Regions from separate parts of the Homo sapiens genome. Here region 2 is linked to region 1. The links are contacts of gene promoters, found by promoter capture Hi-C in human tissues and cell types (Jung and others, 2019). All regions are on one chromosome and are shown on one strand. Each heading gives the region's core, a stretch centred on a gene start or on the middle of the fragment in contact. The rest is flanking DNA. Distances are from core to core; before and after follow the strand shown. Region 1 holds the start of SF3B5 (splicing factor 3b subunit 5). Region 2 has its middle 1.7 kb from the start of TRL-TAA1-1.

Region 1 (2,916 bases), core at 276-2,775:
ATAATAAGGAAGAGACGTATAACTTGCAAAGAGGAAAGAGAGTTTACATCTGTCTGGAGCAGCCAGAGAAAACTCTAAGGAGATGCATTTGAGCTGCCTTTAAAGGGAGATGCGTTCACCAAGGGAACAGACATTCCACGTAGAGGGAATAGCTTGTACAAGGAAATGGGGATGGACACAACAGGTAACATGGAGAAATACAGTTGTCCCTCAGTATTCGTGAGTGATTTGTTCCAGGACCCCCATGGATACCAAAACTAGAGGATGCTCAAGTCCCTGATATAAAACGGCTTGTATTTGCATATACGCACATCCTCCTGTATAGTTTGTCTCTAGATTATTTAACATACCTAATACAATGTAAATGCTATGTAAATAGTTGTTATACTGTATTGTTTAGGGAATAATAACCTTAAAAAGTCTGCATTTCGGTACAGACTGATATTTTCCCCCAATATTTTCAATCAGGTTGGTTGAATCCACAAAACCCACTGAATGGAAGAGCCAAGTAGGGTGAGGTGAGGCCTTGGAGGGAGGATATCAAAATAAGTGGCTAGAGAGGAAGGAGGAGCTTGAGGTGGAAGCCGGAATGTGTGGGAACTGGTGCTGTACTTGCTCACCAAGCACCCTGGTTAGAGCTGAAATAACTCTTTTATGCCACAAACTCCTAAGAGACATAGTTGGGACCAGAACTGGCGCCTGCTGACTTCTGGGTAATCCATCCCCGGTTGTGAAGGGACGGCCGTGCCGCCACGACGGCTCCGAAATACACCAAGAGTTTATTTTCGGGGCTGCTCGTAGTCCAGTCATTCTTGGGTTTCCCATTTCCTATCAGCCCCAAGCCACCCACGGATGCTCCCCACCTCCAGACATCGCCCTCCACTAGGTCCCCAGATCACTTTTAAAACGCGACCAGGGGCCGGGCGCGGTGGCTCACGCCTGTAATCCCAGCACTTTGGGAGTCCGAGGCGGGCGGATCACGAGGTCAGGGGTTCGAGACCAGTGAAACCCCGTCTTTACTAAAAATACAAAAAAACTAGCCGGGCGTGGTGGTGTGCAACTGTCATCCCAGCTACTCGGGAGGCTGAAGCAGGAGAATCGCGTGAACCCAGGAGGCGGAGGTTGCAGTGAGCCGAGATCGCGCCATTGCATTGCAGCCCGGGCAACAGTGCAAGACTCCGTCTTAAACAAACAAACAAACAAACAACAGAACGCGACCAGGAGTCCCGGAAGCCTGCGTGCACGAACTCCCAAGACCACAAGTCCCAGCATGCAACGCTCCTTGTTGGAAAAGGGCCTCCCTTAGCCACTAAGTGGACCATCATGCAACATTCTCTGATGGGGCGGGGATCTCCATGGAGGGGGGAGGCACACTTGTTGCGTCGCCTCAGCAACTCCAATTGCGTGACAGAATGTGCTTCCGCTTCCGCCTCTGAGCCCTATGAGCGAGAGTTACGCTACTTAGTCGTTGTGACGCCATTCTTCTGCGACGGCGCGGACCTGGAGCTTCCGCGCGGTGGCTTCACTCTCCTGTAAAACGCTAGAGCGGCGAGTTGTTACCTGCGTCCTCTGACCTGAGAGCGAAGGGGAAAGCGGCGAGATGACTGACCGCTACACCATCCATAGCCAGCTGGAGCACCTGCAGTCCAAGTACATCGGCACGGGCCACGCCGACACCACCAAGTGGGAGTGGCTGGTGAACCAACACCGCGACTCGTACTGCTCCTACATGGGCCACTTCGACCTTCTCAACTACTTCGCCATTGCGGAGAATGAGAGCAAAGCGCGAGTCCGCTTCAACTTGATGGAAAAGATGCTTCAGCCTTGTGGACCGCCAGCCGACAAGCCCGAGGAGAACTGAGACTCTGCCTTACCACCGCAGTGCGGGGCACCTCTCCCAGCGTTTCTCCGGTTTGCCAATCCTCTTAAGTATTCCTGTCTCCAAAGGACCGGCTCTCCATGGCTCCTGCGCCTCGTGCTTTCCGCGTACAGAAGTGCTTGCCCGGGGAGTCCCGCCTGACCTGCCTTCATGTGGACCCTTAGAACAGCACTGGGAGACCAGCAGGACTCCTGAGAACTGTGCTGGTGGAGAGGTCCTAGAGCCGGCGAGCGTTTGAGAAGAGGGCATGGCGCTGGAGTGAGATGGGATTTGGCGTCTCGTTTTTGGCTAATTGATTGTCATTGGCTTTTTCCATAAAGTTTAGAAATCGTTCAGTCTCTTGGTGTGAACTTTCTGTGTTAGGGTGGAAGGCTCCGGAAAGAGCTGAGCGGGAAGTGGGTTTGGGTGAGGGAGCGCATGCCAGTGTCCATGGCCAGGCACTTAGATCCGCCGTGTCTACCTTTATAATTAATTCCCCGACTGCCACTTTTCCCAAGAGCGTTATTTTCAGGCCCACAATGCCTTCAGTATTGAAATTTGTGGTTATTGTATCCCATCTTCTTTTTCTCCTGTTTTAAAACTCTTTGCAGTCTTTGCTGTCATTGTCCTCCCTAGCCTCTTTAAAATGCATCCTTTTTTTTTTCTTGGGAATTTGTGGCCATGTCTCCAGAAATGACAAGCTGGCAAGCGAGTTCATCCATTCTACATTCAACAAATATTTGTTGAGCTCTATGTGACAGGCATTTTCCCGTGTTCTTGGGGCTTACATTATGCTGGTGGTGGAGAAAGGAGGTCAAACACTAGATGTAATAAGCAAATGTTAGAAGATGCTGCGGGGAGGGGAGAACAATGTATGTGGTGCGGGTGGGAGTAGCTGGTAGGGCTGTAATCTTAAATATGATGCACAAGTTACTGAGATGGTGACATTTGAGCAAAGACTTCAGGAAAATGAGGGAAATGGCCATGCGGAAAACTGGAGAAATTGCTTTCCATGAAGAGGGAACTGCCAGTGCAATGGTACTAACGCTGGGAGTATG
Region 2 (2,916 bases), core at 165-2,664, 120 kb before region 1:
TTGAAAGTAAAATGAAAAACAAGCAAAATAATTAAGGCTTCCAAATTCCAACTTCCTACTGAGGACCAAGAACGCTACTTGTTCAGGATCTCTCAAATTGGACATGACTTCTGTGTTTTAAAGCTGATGGCTAATCCAGATATCTATTATCCTTCAACTTCATAGCCAGATTTGGAATTGGAAAATGAACTGAAACAAACAAAGAAGATGCAGTGCAATAAAGCTTCTATTGATACAATGAAAATAATGTCTCGTGCAAGTTGTATCAGTGATTCAGGATTATTTTCAATGGCAGGTTTATCATTAATGATTACAAGAGAAAAAAGAAAGTCAATTTACTGGCTGACATAGATATAGCCTGAATCTGCTTCCAAACACAGTAACTGTGGAGCAAATTATCAGAATTCTATAGTCAGAACAAGGCAGACAGAATTTAACAAAAAATTTGCCTCAACTTAACCAGTAGGTGTCACTGCGTAAATACATTGGTAGCAGCTTTTCCTACAGAGATCTATGTAAAAGCCCAATAGAAAATAAACAATTTTGAATAACTTACAACTAGTTCAAACCCACAGAGAATGTTTATAAAGCCACACTGTTAATTTTTAATTCAAAGGATTGACTTAAGTTCTTTTTGTTAAAATAATTATTAGAAAATCATTATAAGTTTAGTGGCAGTATACAAATTTAATGATTCAAATTTAATTTAAACTAATGTAAATTTAATTCAAACTAAGTTAACGATTCAAATTTAACTTCAATATATTCGCTATGTTTTAAGAACTTTTGAAAATATATAAAGAATCTAATATAACAAATCTGCTTTTCAAGGAAAAAATCCTGGGCTTTTAAGGAGGAAGAGAAAGACTGAGCTCAGTCTAACTGGCTATTAACAGAATTAAACAATTTTTCCCCCAAAATATTTTCTACCAATTCAACATGCCCCCCATCCCAAGCCTATAAAGACAGACCAAGATTCTCTACATCGGTAGACACAGATACTTCCAAATGTAACACTTGTCAGGTTCCTTCTGTTGCAAATCCTTCAGGGCATCCTGGGCATCATACTTCACAGGGCCCCCAGATGGCTCCCACGTGGCTTACCCCACCTGTATCTGTCTCCCTCTCCCTCTTGCCCCTCCCTCATCCCTGCTTCTCTTCTTTCACCTCTCAACTAAAGCTGGCTCTCTGAGGAAGAGTCAGGCCTTCCCAAACCACTCCTTTAGCACCTTGGGCATAATTCATATTTTTTCATTACAAATGTGGCTTATTAAAATCTCTGTCTCTTGCTATCTGAGCTCACTGAGACAGAGGCCGGGTTATTTATCTGCACATCCCAAGTATCTAATAGTGAGTGGCTCAGAGCCTGTTCTCAGTTGCTGGCAGGATGTTTATTTCCAAAATATGTAGACACTCTTTTTCTCTTTCCTTTTTGAACAATTCAATTCTAAAGCCATTACATGAGCTTAAGCAATGTATAGATCTGCACTGGGGAGGCAGGAATTCAGGGAGTTACAAACATGGACAGGGAGACAAAATAGAACAAAGTCTATAGTGTTGGATCAGAATTGGAGGTATATATAAACTCCTTGATATACATAAAGATATATGAATAAATATAGATATATATTTATATAGATATACAAATAGATAAATATGCACACACACACACTCCTTAATTCTGTCTACCCAGAGGGCCTGGAAGTAGCAACACCTCAAAAGCAATGAGCACACCTAGCACTGAGACCTTGGTTTCTAGATACCATTCTCCACTAAAAGGAACCAAGGATCTTTAGAAAATGGCTGATTCTAGTACTGGGTCAGGAAAGCACAAGGTAAATCTGGACCATCTTGGAGTAGGAAGTAAGGAAGTGCTAAAGAATAATGCAGACAGGTCAAAAGTCAGCTTGAATGGGCTGTCACTGGCCCAATCTGAGACACTCTGAGCATCAAAATGAATGAATGGATTGTAACCATTAATTAAAATAGGGCACCATGGATACATACGTACATAACTTATAATTCCATAAATAATTGAATAAAATGAAAATTTGATAAGGCACCGGATATTACACAGCTTCAAAGCACTTCCCTCTAAAACAGGTACTAATCACAAAGGGAAAACAGTAACTTTACAGAGGAGAAGCCTGGCAGAGAAGCAGGCCACACGGAAATCATGCGACCTGAGAGGCTGCCGTGAGAACACTGCATGGCTTCTGTGGAAGTCCTGCTAAATAAACAGAGCCTGGATCTCATCAGGAGGAAACACCAGAAAACCTAGACTGACAAAGGGACATTCTACAAACCGGCTGGCTTGTCAGCAGAAGTGTCAAGATCATGAAAGTCAGCAGAGGCTGAGGAGCTGATCCACACGGAAGAAGCCGAAGGAGACAGGACAAGTAAATGCAACGCATCATTCTGAAGAGGAGCCTTTTGCTATAAAGAACATTCTTGCGACAACTGGTGACCGATTGCGCACCGAGGATTAGATGGTATTAAATCATCAATGTTAATTTCCTGATTTTAATAGTAGTACTTGGGCATCCACTAGGTATTTTACTTTTAAATGATTCAAGAGAGGAAAAAAAGTTATTTGCAGTGTACTTGCAACTTTTAAAAATTCTTAGATGGCTCTCATTAAACAAACAATTTTAAAGGGAGAAGAAGAAAAAAAAAACTTGACCACGCTGTATTTAAAAATTCTAAGCCGAACCCAAGTTGGAGTGCATTTTACATCTAGGATGATACAGTCTCCGCCTTCTAGGAGTTAATAGAAGAGTTGTGTGCACAAAATTAACATTGGCGGGGGAAAAAAAAGGGAGAGAGAGAGAAAGGGAAAAAAAAGAGAGATGCATTTTTCACTTTTTTGCAGAGGCAGTTTTAAAAATACCCTCCAGGTCACAGCCCTCCCCCTCC

The links. Contacts are between HindIII fragments. The study calls those that stand out against the background at their distance.
Region 2: a fragment that was not itself captured here is called in contact with the fragment with the promoter of SF3B5 in region 1 in 2 of the 25 tissues and cell types used here (hippocampus and spleen).

Annotation. Positions count from the first base shown.
Region 1 is chr6:144,094,182-144,097,097 of GRCh38, reverse strand. It overlaps SF3B5 (splicing factor 3b subunit 5), which reads left to right and starts at 1,525. Exons shown (of 1, transcript NM_031287.3): 1 at 1,525-2,214. The coding sequence starts at 1,601. The coding sequence ends at 1,861. RefSeq lists an enhancer at 1,076-1,775. The HindIII fragment of the contact is 26,090 bases long and covers 1-2,916 here.
Region 2 is chr6:144,216,836-144,219,751 of GRCh38, reverse strand. No RefSeq gene overlaps it. Among named protein-coding and RNA genes, the nearest start is that of TRL-TAA1-1, 1.7 kb to the right of the region's middle. RefSeq lists a silencer at 2,849-2,898. The HindIII fragment of the contact is 9,184 bases long and covers 1-2,916 here.